2 separate regions of the Homo sapiens genome follow, and region 2 is linked to region 1. The links are contacts of gene promoters, found by promoter capture Hi-C in human tissues and cell types (Jung and others, 2019). All regions are on one chromosome and are shown on one strand. Each heading gives the region's core, a stretch centred on a gene start or on the middle of the fragment in contact. The rest is flanking DNA. Distances are from core to core; before and after follow the strand shown. Region 1 holds the start of OR1J1 (olfactory receptor family 1 subfamily J member 1). Region 2 overlaps RABGAP1 (RAB GTPase activating protein 1).

What was found. Contacts are between HindIII fragments. The study calls those that stand out against the background at their distance.
Region 2: a fragment that was not itself captured here is called in contact with the fragment with the promoter of OR1J1 in region 1 in 1 of the 25 tissues and cell types used here (hippocampus).

What each region holds. Positions count from the first base shown.
Region 1 is chr9:122,475,043-122,482,366 of GRCh38, reverse strand. OR1J1 (olfactory receptor family 1 subfamily J member 1) reads left to right here and starts at 4,441. Exons shown (of 1, transcript NM_001004451.1): 1 at 4,441-5,409. The coding sequence starts at 4,441. The coding sequence ends at 5,409. It also overlaps a transcript of OR1J2 not described here. The HindIII fragment of the contact is 7,011 bases long and covers 990-7,324 here.
Region 2 is chr9:123,091,611-123,098,669 of GRCh38, reverse strand. RABGAP1 (RAB GTPase activating protein 1) reads right to left here. Exons shown (of 26, transcript NM_012197.4): 22 at 825-929. Among named protein-coding and RNA genes, the nearest start is that of MIR600, 17 kb to the left of the region's middle. The HindIII fragment of the contact is 4,152 bases long and covers 3,287-7,059 here.

The sequences.
Region 1 (7,324 bases), core at 3,192-5,691:
TTTTTTGTCTTTTTGATAATAACCATTCTATTTGGGGTGAGGTCACAGCTCATGGAGGTTTTAATTTGCATTTCCTTAATAATTAGTTATATAAGTGGTTTTCCATATACCTATTGGCCATTTGTATGTCTTCTTTTGAGAAATACGTATTCAGGTATTTTGCACATTTTAAAATTTATTGTTTTTGTTTGTTTGTTTTTGCTATTGGGTTGTTTCAGTTCCTTATATATTCTGGATATTAACCCCTTGTCAGACACACAGTTCGAAAATATTTTCTTTCATTCTGTAGGTTGTCTTTTCACTCAGTTGGTTGTTTCTTTTCCTGTGCAGAAGCTTTTTAGTTTGATATAATCTTATTTGTCTATTTTTGCTTTTGTTACCTGTGCTTTTGAGCTCTTGTCAAAAAAATCCTTGTCTAAATTAATGTCATGAAGCATTTCCCCTATGTTTTCTTCTAATAGTTTTACTGTTTTGGATCTTATATTTAAGTCCTTAATCCTCTTACAGTTTATTTTTATATATGATAAAGGATAGGGGTCTAGCTTCATTGTTCTGCATGTGCATATCCAGTTTTTCCATCACCATTTATTGAAGAGACTATCCTTCCCAATTTAACCATCTTATAGCAATGTATCAGAGTTCCTTTTCTTCGTATACTTGCCAATTCATGGTGTCTTCATGTATATTTTTAAAATTTCATCAGTGCTATCTTACCATTGTTTTAACTTTTATTTACTTTATCACTTTGAAAGTGGACCCCTCACATGCTTAATATGTTTATTGGCCATTCGGACTTCATTTTCTGTGAGTTTCTAGTTTGTATTTTTTGCCATATTTTAATTGAGCTTGTCTTTTCCTTATTGAGCTTTTGTCTTTTCTTTATTGATTTATAGGAGTTCTCTATGTGTCCGGAATACTAGTGTTTTGTTGATTTGTGGCAGTATATATTCTCCCATCTGTGGCTTTGTGGTGTTGGTGGTTGCTGTCGTAATGAAACTTCATTTTAATGTTATCAAACTTAAAGGAAGATTCATTTATCCTGTGTGCTTTGGGGATCTTGATTAAGAAATGCGCTTTACCATGAAAAACGAATGAGATCATGTCCTTTGCAGGGACATGGATGAAGCCAAAGTCCATTATGCTTAGCAAACTAACACAGGAAAAGAAAACCAAATACTGCATGTTCTCACTTGTAAGTGGGAGCTAAATGATGAGAACACATGGACACATAGAGGGGAATAACTCACACTAGGGCCTTTTAGAGGGTGGATGGGGCCGGGCGCAGTGGCTCACGCCTGTAATCCCAGCATTTTGGGAGGCCGAGGCGGGCAGATCACAAGGTCAAGAGATCAAGACCATCCTGGCCAACATGGTGAAACCCCGTCTCTATTAAAAAGTACAAAAATTAGCTGGGCGTAGTGGTGCACACCTGTAATCCCAGCTACTCGGGAGGCTGAGGCAGGAGAATCACTTGAACCCGGGAGGCAGAGGTTGCAGTGAGCCGGGATTGTGCCACTGCACTCCAGCCTGGTGACAGAGCAAGACTCCATCTCAACAAAAAATAAAAAATAAAATAAAATAAAAAATAGAGGGTGGATGGTGGGAGGAGGGAGAGATCAGGAAAAATAACGAATGGGTACTAAGCTTAATACCTGGGTGATGATGTATACATATGTAACAAACCTGCATGTTGTGCACATGTACCCTAGAACTTAAAGTATAATAATAAAAAAAAGAAGCAAATACATTTTCTTTCTAATAAAATTTGTTTTTAGATCCTTCAAAAGGATTCAACAGCCAAAAAAAAAAAAGAAATACCTGGGTGATGAAATAATCTGTACAACAAACCCCCATGACACAAGTTTACCTACGTAACAAACCTGCACTTATACCCTTGAACATAAAATACAAGTTAGAAAGAAATATGTTTTAACCTAAGGCCATAAACATAATCTATAAAGTTTTCTAATGATGTGAGGTAGGGATATAGTATTATTTTTCCTTTATTGATAGCCAACTTCCTCAGCACCACTTAATGAACAGTTCTTCCTTTTTACTACTTTATCACTGATTTATAATGCACTTTTGTCAATCTCATGGTCCTCATTATAAACATGTCTATTTCTAAGCTCTATATTTTTCTTCATTATTTTATTGGTTTATCCTTGCAAATATTTATTTGTTTTAATCACTTGCAAATATTTATTATTTGTAACAAGCTGTGATATGTTATAGTGAATCCCTGCCCTCTCTTTTTATTAAAAAAAAGAGTACTTTGATAAATATTGATGTGAGTTGAAAAATAAATCGCTTATAAGCTATTTCAGAGATGCTGAAAGAACAGAATTCCTGTTAAAATTACTTTTAGCTTTTAGATTGTATTTCTTTGAATGTGAGGCCATGTGGCAACTAAATAACATGGGGCCCCAGGATTGTTAGAGCAAAGCTGGTTCTTGAACTAAGCCCAGTAAAAGTTTTTTAATAAAGCTGTTATGATAAATTTAAATAGCTCTAACATTTTATTTGATCAACAAATTTATATAGAGTATGCATTAGTTGGTTATGATAGATTCTAGGTCTAATCTTTCAAGAAAAAGAGAAAGGAACATGGAAACATGAAAAAGAATAGACCAAAATAAGACATCCAGCTCATATCTTAACCTGAAGTATTATTTCCAAATATGTTGAGAAATTGTCTCGTCCTTCTGGTACTGGTATTTAGAATAGAGTAACAGCATCTGACAGCCTCGCTAATATCTGAATTTATTATGATGTGAAGTTTCCAAGTCTTTATGAATTTTTCGTAATTACACTATTAAATGTTTTAAAAGTGGTAGTGATTAAAGACTGAATTTAAGTTGTGTTTAATGCCTCATCAGTCAGTACCTTTGATATATTTCAAGATCAAGCAGGAATTTCTAATACAGCATCTGATGTCATATAGAAATGAGATACAAAACAATAAAACACAAAGGCCGAGAGACTGGAGGAGGAAATCCAAACTCATCAGCATTTTACTTACTCTGGCTTGACACAGTCAGTAAAATGCTTTGAAAGCCATCCTGGGGAAAAGACAAATTCTGAGTGGAACAATGAGATTTCAGTAGCATGGAGAAATTGATGAGATGGCTGAAATCCACTGAATGTGAAATCTCACTGAGCCAATGCTCCTTAGACATACTGTGAGAGGAATTCACCGCTGCGTCCCCAAGAGACATTGTCACATGTGTGGTTGAGCCTGGAGGAATATATATATGTTTTCGCGCTACACATTGATATTCAAACATAGAATTAAATATCTTACACTTATCTTAAACTTTAAAAAGATCAGAGCAATTAGGCTGGGTGCAGTGGCTCACACCTGTAACCCCAGCACTCTGGGAGGCTGAGGCGGGTGGATCATGAGGTCAGGAGTTCGAGACCAGCCTGACCAACATGGTGAAACTCCGTCTCTACTAAAAATAAAAAATTAGCTGGAAGAATCGCTTGAACCCAGGAGGCGGAGGTTACAGTGTGCCGAGATCTCACCACTGCACTCCAGCCTTGGCAACAGAGCGAGACTCTGTCTCAAACAAACAAACAAACAAAAAAAGATCAGAGCAATTATGTATGGATCTGAAACCATAAGAAAGATTTTCTATCTTGTTGCTTACTTCGTATTATGATTTATTTACCTGGACTTTCAACAGTACCACCCTCCCCACCTTCTAGAATAGTACATATATATCATGATAAAATATGTGGGTATGTCCTTTGAAAAATCACTCAAAATAACTTGTTTTGTTGTCTTTTGGAGTAATTGTTTACATGGAAGAGTTTTTTAATAAATAAAGTGTTATGTCTTAAAAAAAGATTAGGGGTCTATAAACAATGAATAAATTAGAAATAATCATGCACTGTGTAGACAAGCAGGGTATACAGAATTAAATAGGTCATTGCACACAAAATAAGGCAATGAGATTTCCAATGTCAAATAATTGCTTTGTTTCCACAGAAGAAACTATGGAGTCAAGATACTTCGGTCCAAATCCCAGCTTCTCCTCTTCCTATTGCTGTGACTATAAGACTGTCTGCCTTAGCTTTCACATCTAAAGAGTAGAAATAATAACAGTACCACCCAGCTCATATATTGAAGGCTATTGAATCACTTACAATACATCAGCTATTGGAACAGTGTATTAAAAAACATTTAGCAAACAACTTTTAGTACTATCATTTACAGAGACCAGATTCAGAAAGAAAGTAGCTATATCGACTAAACCTTCATTTCTTTTTCAGCACATTTGCAGCAAAATATGTGGCAAATGTAAGAAAATATGAAGACATTCTCTAAGTCAAAAGAACATCTCTATTATACTATGCCACAGTTATCATTTCTTATTCCAAGACATACCATTTTTTTCCTTCAAATTTCCCTAGTGCCCTCCAGCTGATATAAACATGAGCCCTGAGAACCAGAGCAGCGTGTCCGAGTTCCTCCTCCTGGGCCTCCCCATCCGGCCAGAGCAGCAGGCCGTGTTCTTCGCCCTGTTCCTGGGCATGTACCTGACCACGGTGCTGGGGAACCTGCTCATCATGCTGCTCATCCAGCTAGACTCTCACCTTCACACCCCCATGTACTTCTTCCTTAGCCACTTGGCCCTCACTGACATCTCCTTTTCATCTGTCACTGTCCCTAAGATGCTGATGAACATGCAGACTCAGCACCTAGCCGTCTTTTACAAGGGATGCATTTCACAGACATATTTTTTCATATTTTTTGCTGACTTAGACAGTTTCCTTATCACTTCAATGGCATATGACAGGTATGTGGCCATCTGTCATCCTCTACATTATGCCACCATCATGACTCAGAGCCAGTGTGTCATGCTGGTGGCTGGGTCCTGGGTCATCGCTTGTGCGTGTGCTCTTTTGCATACCCTCCTCCTGGCCCAGCTTTCCTTCTGTGCTGACCACATCATCCCTCACTACTTCTGTGACCTTGGTGCCCTGCTCAAGTTGTCCTGCTCAGACACCTCCCTCAATCAGTTAGCAATCTTTACAGCAGCATTGACAGCCATTATGCTTCCATTCCTGTGCATCCTGGTTTCTTATGGTCACATTGGGGTCACCATCCTCCAGATTCCCTCTACCAAGGGCATATGCAAAGCCTTGTCCACTTGTGGATCCCACCTCTCAGTGGTGACTATCTATTATCGGACAATTATTGGTCTCTATTTTCTTCCCCCATCCAGCAACACCAATGACAAGAACATAATTGCTTCAGTGATATACACAGCAGTCACTCCCATGTTGAACCCATTCATTTACAGTCTGAGAAATAAAGACATTAAGGGAGCCCTAAGAAAACTCTTGAGTAGGTCAGGCGCAGTGGCTCATGCCTGTAATCTCAACACTTTGGGAGGCTGAGGCAGACGGATCACCTGAGATCAGGAGTTCGAGACCAGCCTGGCCAACATGGCGAAACCCAGTCTCTACTAAAAATACAAAAAAATTAGCCGGGCATGGTGGTGCATGCCTATAGTCCCAGCTACTCGGGAGACTGAGGCAGAAGAATCACTTGAACCCAGGAGGCGGAGGTTGCAGTGAGCCAAGATCGTGCCACTGCACTCCAGCCTGGGTGACAGAGCAAGACTCTGTCAAAAAAAAGAAAAAAGAAAAAAAAATTATTGAGTAAAAAAAAACCATTATTCTAACTGATATTTACCTTTCTTTTAAAACATCCCATGTAATATTTTTCCTCAATAATACAGAAATACAAATTATTGAAAATATAGCTCACTTGTCTTTCTTCCACAGCTGTCACTCTGAAATGCTTTCCTGATATTATTATTGCATCTGTTTGAGGGAATAGTAAAATAGGATATGTTGTATAGGACTTTGTTTGCTCTTTTCTTGGGTAATGGAATTGGAAAATATTCTGAGCATGTTATGTCACTTTGGCTGGTATGAAAAGGAAGCCATCAGGGCTGACCTTTCCCAGATTTTAAATTTGTTATAAAATGTGTCTGGCCCTTCACACCTCTATTTCTTAGGAATTTTCCACTTTTGTGAAGATATGGCTCCTCTTTCGCCCAGGCACCAGATATCCAGGAAGCTGAAGCCCTTTCAGAAATTTTAAGAAAAACATATGACATTTCTCACTCCTTACATAATAATTAACACACTGCTGTCTTGTCCTTCCAGAATATAGCCCACACTTCCTTTCTCCCCAAACACATACAGATGTTCAGTGACAAAATAAATGTCACCTCAGTTCTCTCAGGGACTGATCTAAGAACTTAATATACCTTAAAATCATCTAACTTAATTCTGACAAAAACTCCAAAAGGTAAGTTTAAAAAACTCAGGCTCTAAAAGGGGAAGAATACCCCAAGATCATATAGTTCGTGAAAGGAAGACTTGAATCTTGGCATCTGATTCCAGAGTGACTCAGTGTAGCAAAGACTATAATAGTTTACATGGAACACTGTGTGGGTTTGAAGAGGAATAATTAGCTCAGTCTGATGGAAGAGGATATAAACAACTTCCCAAAGAAGGCGTTTCTTTACCTGAATCTTAACAGATGAGAACTATCCAGACACACAAGGTTTTATCTTGTTCTGATGATCACAGGAAGAGGGAGTAGTGTGTGTCAGGATGTTAAATTGGAAGTTTCAACTGAGGCACCAAGACCTGGGAGACAACAGATATTAAAGTGAATTGTGACACACAAAATGAAGATATTGATAGGAAATAATAATAATAATCAATATCGTAACACTTGAGCCTCTCAATCTAATGTGGATCTAAAAAGAGCTGAGAGCTGGAGGTAAGAGAGTGTCTTGTAAAGTTTTCTTTCAGAGAAAGCTGCATAGTGAACCCCAAATCCTCCTAACAGGGAGAGGGTTGTTTTTCTCCTTATCTCAAGCTTAATGGAAGAAGCTTCAATAGAACCACTTAGCAAGTTTCATATATATCCCCTGCTTTTGTGAGAGAAAGAGCAATAGAAAAGAAGAAATGTGGCGGGAGAGAGATAAAGACAATGATGAAATTATGTTTAGGGAATGCTTTCACTTCTTTTCATGGTGAGGCAATAAAATAACTGGGGATCCCAGTACCTGGTAGTGGACAGTGAGCCAGGAAGACCCCACCGTGGTGCTGTCCCCATGCCTAACCCTGCCCCTGGCCTCGCCCTCTAGCCCCTATCTCCTAGCGAGGCCCTGCCCCAACCTTCCCTGCCAAGCTGGATGGAGGAGGGTGTAGCCCAGGCTGCTCCTTGTCTGCCTGTTGTCCTGCCAAGTATTCACCTAGGAAAAAAAAAATTAGAGAAATGTCCAAATAT
Region 2 (7,059 bases), core at 4,113-6,612, 620 kb before region 1:
AAGGAAGTTCTGCCACCAACCGCTTAGTGCTAGGCTTCCCAAAAACTGCTGAACCAAACCCTGGAAGTCCTCTAATTCAGCTACTTTCTTCCTTCAATCTTGGCAGCACTAATCCCCTGTTCCTGATGCAGGAGAGGGAGAGAACAGTTAAAACTTCCAAAAACGTCAGACCCCATTTCAGATTGAGGCTTCTGCTGAAGGTCTTCCCTGCCAGTACAAGCCAACCTGTGGACCTTCACTGACAGACCAGACACAAACCAAAGAGCTCATAAGAGGACTGCGGGTTTTCAGCATCTCATGGTTTCTGTAGAAAGGGCTTTGCAGTCTCTCACCCCAGCCAGTCCTGCCTCCTGGACGACCGTGGTGTGACAGGGGAGGGGACTGCTCCCAGGCGCACAGCACCCAGAGCTCTTCCCATGCCTGCAGGTCTGTGTCTCCAATGACTATGGAGCACTGGCTCAGAACAAGACTTCCCAAGCTTGCTCTATGAGGGAGACAGCAGAGGACAAGTAGGGAAACAGCCAGGCATTATATGATGTGTGCTTTCCTTCTGCAGGAATTCTACCCCCTCTTCTTTGTTATGCTCAGATGCTGATACACAGAAATTCTCCTGCCCCAACAAAGGATGGGCTTCAACCCACTGTCTCCTCCTAGACTTTAATTAGGAACCATTGGACTTTACACAGTAGGGGGAAAAAAAAAGTCTTTGGAAAGAAACTGAAGCCAGATGTCTCTAGGTTTTCTAGTGCCAACAGGAAGCCACCAGCTGAACTCCCAGTTCTCAAGCATTTGCAAGACAGAGGAATGTGGGAGAGTTCCCTTACCTGAGCAGACTCTTCTTCCAGCCGTCTTTTCTCTTCTTCTGCATCAATCAACTTCTGTTTGGTCATCAGCAGCTCCTTATTCAGAGCATCTGCCTTTTCCTCAGCCTGAAACATTTAAGATATGCTGTCACAAAACAAGAATTGGGAACTGCAAAGGATTTCCATTACTTAGCATAATCCCATTTTAAGATGATGGGGAAACTCTGATTCAGAGAGGGGAAATTATATCCCCAGGGTCACAATGAGAATACACTCATGCATAAGTGCCTGTCCCAGTCTCTTGCTCAGAGGTAGTGCAGGGCAGTAGTTAGGAGCTTAGCCTTTGGCATCAGACAGCCTGGACTCATCGCCCATTGTTCACTGACCATGTGCCACTTGGACAAGTCATTGAGAACCTCTCTAAGCTTCCGGCTCTTCATCTGAGGGATAAGGCAAGAAAAGCATTCAGCACAGTGCCTGGAATACAGTAAACACCAATAAAAGGTAGCCATCATTATTATTAATAAACTGGTTTTCTTCCTCCAAGCTGTGTTTCCTCTGCTTCATCCAACCCGTCTGGCATTTTTCTCTTGTTATTACCTGATAAAGGAGGCTGCCCCTTTCCTGGCACTTTTTCTTATCTTTAATGGCCACTCTCCACTCCAGTCTTTTTCTAAAGCATGCAAAAGGTCTAGTGGGCGTATCTGTGAGTTCTAGTGAAAATGATATACTTTTGCCTGACATACGAGTTCCTGGTGCTGGGCACTCCAAAGATAACTGAAGAAGGACTGACTATACCATATTAGAGAAGACTCAAGGACTAAATACAGAGGGTCTCTGCTGGGCTCCTGATATGGATAGGATTTCCCTGAAATTCTGACATCACCTAAAGTAGTGTAACTGGGCCACTGAGTTTTCCACTATACTCTATTTCCTTTCCTGTATCTTCTTTGGAAGAAACAGGTTCCAGAGAGCTGGGTCCTTAAATGGGGAACTGGGCCAGGTGCGGTGGCTCACGCCTGTAATCCCAGCACTTTGGGAGGCCAAGGTGGGCAGATCACAAGGTGAGGAATTTGAGAACAGCCTGGCCAACATAGTGAAACCCTGTTTCTACTAAAAATATACAAAAAATTAGCCGGGCGTGGTGGCAGGCGCCTGTAATCCCAGCTACCTGGGAGGCTAGGGCAGCAAAATAGCTTGAACCCAGGAGGCTGAGGTTGCAGTGAGCCAAGATCGCACCATTGCACTCCAGCCTGGGCAACAGTGCGAGACTCAGTCTCAAAAGAGAGAGAAAAAAAGGTGGAACTGAGAATGGCATGATACGCAGATTCAAAAGGCCATTAATTACTGGCAAACTGCAAATGCACGCAATTAAATTGCGTGACTCTTTTATCATTAGGAAATGTCCCTCTTTGTCCTTGGTAATACCCTTTGTCCTCGGTAATACCCTTTGTCCTGAAATCTACTTTATCTGACATTTCTATAGCCAGTCCAGTTTTCATGGTATTGTGTGGTATGTACATCTTTTTCCATCTGTTTACTTTGGTAAAAGAGTGACTCTTTTATCATTATGAAATGTCCCTCTTTGTCCTTGGTAATACCCTTTGAAGGTGTAACAATCCAAAATGTATGCAGAAATTCAAATTACATGAAACAAATCCCTACACAACTAAAAGGAGAAAAAGAAAAATGCACAGTTAGAGTCACAGAACCTTCTACTGTGCTCTCTCAGGAAGCGACAGAACAAGCAGAGAAAATCAAGTTGTTCTACATAAGACTTGAGCACTATCAACCAATTTGGCCTAATTGACACAGTACACTCCACTCACAACAGAACATACATACTTTCCAAGTGTATGTGGTACATTCACCCAAATAGATTATATGATAAGCCATAAAATAAGTAATGGTATATTCTAAAAGGATTAAAATCAGGCAGGATATAATCTCTGATCACAACAGAAATAAATGAAAAATAACAGAAAAGTTTCTGGGAAAAACAATAGTTGGAAATTAAATTACATACTACTAATAAACTTGTATAAGTGAAAGAATAAATCACAAGAACTGAATGAAAATAAAAGCACAACACATCAGAGTATGTGGAATGCAGCTGAAAATAGTGCTTACATGGAGATTTCTGATTTTTTTTTTTTTTCTTCAAAGACACAGGGTCACATTCTGTTGCCCAGGCTAAAATGCAGTGGTACGATCATAGCTCACCATAACCTTGAACTCCTGCGCTCAAACAATACTCCCATCTCAGCCTCCCAAGCAGCTGGGACTACAGGCATGTGTCACTATGCTCAGCTATTTTTCAAAAATTTTTTGTAGAGACAAATTCTTGCTATATTGCCCAGGCTGGTCTTGAACTCTTGGGCTCAAGCAATCTTCCTGCTTTGGCCTCCAAAGTGCTGGGATTACAGGCATGAGCCATTGTGCCTGGCTGAGATTAATAACTTTAAATGCTTATTTTAGAAAAGAAGAAAGGTCCAGAGTTATTCAAACTTCCTCTTTAAGAAGCCAGAAAAAGAGCAAATGAAACCCAAAGAAAGTAAAAGCAGAAATCAATGAAACAAGACAACAGAGAAAACTCAATAAAAGCAAAAGCTGGCTTTTTTTTTTTTTTTTTTTTTTTTTGGGACAAGGTTTCACTCTGTCACCCAGGCTGGAGTGCAGTGGCATGATCTCGGTTCACTGCAGCCCCTGCCTCCCGGGTTCAAGTGATCCTCTCACCTAAGCCTCCTATGTAGCTGGGAATATAGGCATGTGACACCACAGCCAGCTAATTTTTGCCATGTTGCCCAGGCTAAAGCTGGCTTTTGAAAAGATCAACACAACTGATAAACTTCTAGCTAAGTTGGTTATGGAAAAGTGGGAAAAAGAAATGACGTACATCAGGAATGAAAATGAAACATCTCTACATATCTTATAAATATTAAAAGAATACAAACAACCTTATATCAACATACTTAAGATGAAATGGATATATTACTTGAAAGACACAAATTATAACAACAGACACACGAAAAATTAGAAAATTTGCATAGCTCCATATCTAGAAAAGAAAAAGAATTCACAATTAATTTCCTGCAAAGAAAATTTCAGGTCTGCGTGACTTCACTAGGGAACTAAAGACTTAATCAAAGAACAATCATATACAAAGTCCTCAAGAAAACAAGAGGGAACACTTCTCACTTCATTTTACGAGGCCAGCATTCCCTAATGACAAAACCAGACAAAAACATTAAATAAAACTCCAGACAAATATTCCTTATGAACATATAAATATTTAATAAGAATTAAAATCTTTAATAAAAAATAGAAACCCCAACTGGAGTTTATCCTAGGAATGCAAGGTTGGTTTACATTGAAAAGTGAATTTATTTCACTATATTAACAAAATTAAGGAGAAATACCAAATGATTATCTCAACAGACACAGGAAAAGCATTTGACAAAATTCAACACCCATTCATGACAAAAACTCTCAGCAAACAGGAACAGAGGAGAATTTATTTCCTCAACCTACTCTACGAAAAACCTACAGCTAATGTCCAGAACCAGGCAATGATGTCCACTCTAACCATTCAGCATCATTCTGAAGATGCTAGTCAGTGCAGTGAGACAAGAAAAAGAGAGGCAGATAAATATGAAAGGAAGAAAAACTGTATTCAGAGATGATATGATTGTATATGTGGAAAATCTGAAAAAATATATTTAAAAAGCTGCCAGACTAACAAATGAGTTTTTACAAGGTCACAGGATACAAGGTCACAACACAAAGACCAACTGCATCTCTAGAGACTAGCAATACACAACTGGAAGATGAAATTTAAAAAACAATACCACTTTACAAAAATAGATTAAAACATGCACGTCTTGTAAATTGAACACTAAAAAACATTGCTACTGAGAGAAACTGAAAAAGATCTTAATAAAGGAAAATTTTAACATGTTCTGGATTGAATGCTTCAACTGTTGTTCAGATGTCAGTTCTCCCCAAATTGATCTACAGATTCCATGAACCTCACTCAAAAGCCAGAGGCTTTTATTTCTAGATATTCATAAGCTGATTCTAACACTGATACAGAAATGCAAAGAACAACAAAGTCAGAGAACTCACATGAACTGATTTTAAGATTTATTATAAAGCTACAGTAAGCAAGACAGTGTGGTATTGGCTTAAGGATAGACACAGAAACAGACGGAGCAGACAGAATCAAGAAGTGAACCCGCCAATTTAGGGTCAATTGATTTTTAATAAAGGGGCCAAGCTAACTCAATGGGGCAAGTTCAGCAATCTGCAAAATGTCACAGAACTAATAAGGAGCTGAGGCAGAGTTTACATCCTGCTGGACAGCAGTTGGGCTCACCAGCAAGTTTCCTTCACTCTCATGTCTGTCTCAACACAGAGGAGTGACCCTGCTAGAGGGGACTCGGACATGGTCCTATCAGCTCTGCAGGGACCTTCCATAGCTTCCCCTCATCCTTTTAACACCAGTGTCAGGTCTAGTCATTACTCCCATTTCATACAGAAAGCTTGATTGGGGTCACCGAGGAATTAAGTGGCTGGCATGGAATTTCTCCACAGCTGTTGTGTGAAGAACAGCAAAAGTGACAGGTGATGAATAACAAAAGTGATGTATAATCAACCGAAAATACAAGAGGGCCCTGGAAATTTTAAAGCCTCACACCAGAGCTTTTCTCTGAGATGCAGGAAGGAAAGAGCTCAAAGGAATGACGTTCTTTCAAAAACCTAAGTCCCTAAAGTAAAAAAATAATGAAAGGGCCCCACACTCCTCCCTTCAGTGAGGAAGAATCTAGCTGATTTTCAGTGATGATTCAGAAGAAACTACAGAGAGAAGTCTAACTTGGGAAGGGAAAGTGAGTGTGGGAAAGGTGTGTCTGCAGCATTTTAGATGACTGCAGGATGGGCCCTGGTGTGATGCTCCTGAGCCCTGCCGCCTGCTTAGGAGGGTGAGCTCTGGTGTCAGCCCTTCAATTTGAGGGCTTGGCCACTAGCTGGGTGATCTGTGTGGGATATTTAACCTCTTTTTGCTTCAGTTTCCTCATCAGTAAAATGGGGATCATAATTATATCCCTTCTACAACACGGCCTACTCTGAGGATTTGATAATATATAGAAAGCACTTAGAACAGTGCCTAGCACTTGGTAAGTGCTCAAGAAATGTTAGCTCTTATGTCACAATCCCTGGTCCTCATGTTTTTGATACGGTTATGACATTGATTCATAGCTCCTTGTCCCATATTTACTGTGGAAACAGGCTGGCACTGTAAAAAAAAAGCCTGGGCATTCCAGTTCCATGGGCCTGGCTCTGCTTCTTCCTGGGTACCTTCAACTGAATCTCAAGTTTTATAGCTGTTAAAAAAAACAAATCCTCATCCATAAATGGAACTTACATTACTGTTCTCTCAAGGCTGAGGTAAGGGTAAGAGAGATCAAAGTTTAGTAAAATGCTTATCATAGTGCCTAGCACCACAAATCATCAGTAAATGGGAGCTCATATTATAATTCTTATTATTTTGCACTCCTAATATCAGGAATGAAACCTGGTTCTCTCACTACTGTGTCAGGATAAGATGACTTGAAAAAGGGTTTATACTGTTTAGGGGCAGGTTTTAAGAACATAAGTAGTCTACGACTCACTAGTGGGTGTCACTGTTAATACTGGGCCTGTTAGACTGGAAAATACAACAGCTCAAACTAAAAATCCACCTGGAATTTTAGCCTAAGCTGCCTCTTAATTTCATTGTAGGACACAAAGGCTCCTATTCAAGACCCATATTTTTTTTCTTTTCCTTTTTTTCCTCCTTTCTGCATGACCCATGGCTGTTATGAGGGCTGTGTTAGGCACACACCTCTGGCCCTGCTTCAGTAGTCCCTGCTCCATGTACACCTGCCTCCCTCCACTCACTAGGCAGAAATACCCGAACAGGGAGAGAATGACCCATATAGTGTTTCTACAAAGAGGAACAGAGGATATGCTGGGAATTTGCACCGTAAGGAGGAAACTCAACCCTGATGAGCAGACTGTGGTAAGCCAAAAAGCCATCAAAAGACCTCAGGTTCTGGTCATTGAGGGCTAATGACCTTGAAACATTCTCCCTGCAAAAACTGCAAAGAGGAGCCTTCCCTGTTAAATTCAGTTATTTGTAGATGACAAGCAGACAAGCAGAGGGCGCTAACAATGCCTGTGCCTGATTTTTTTTTAATGATGCTTTCATATACATCTA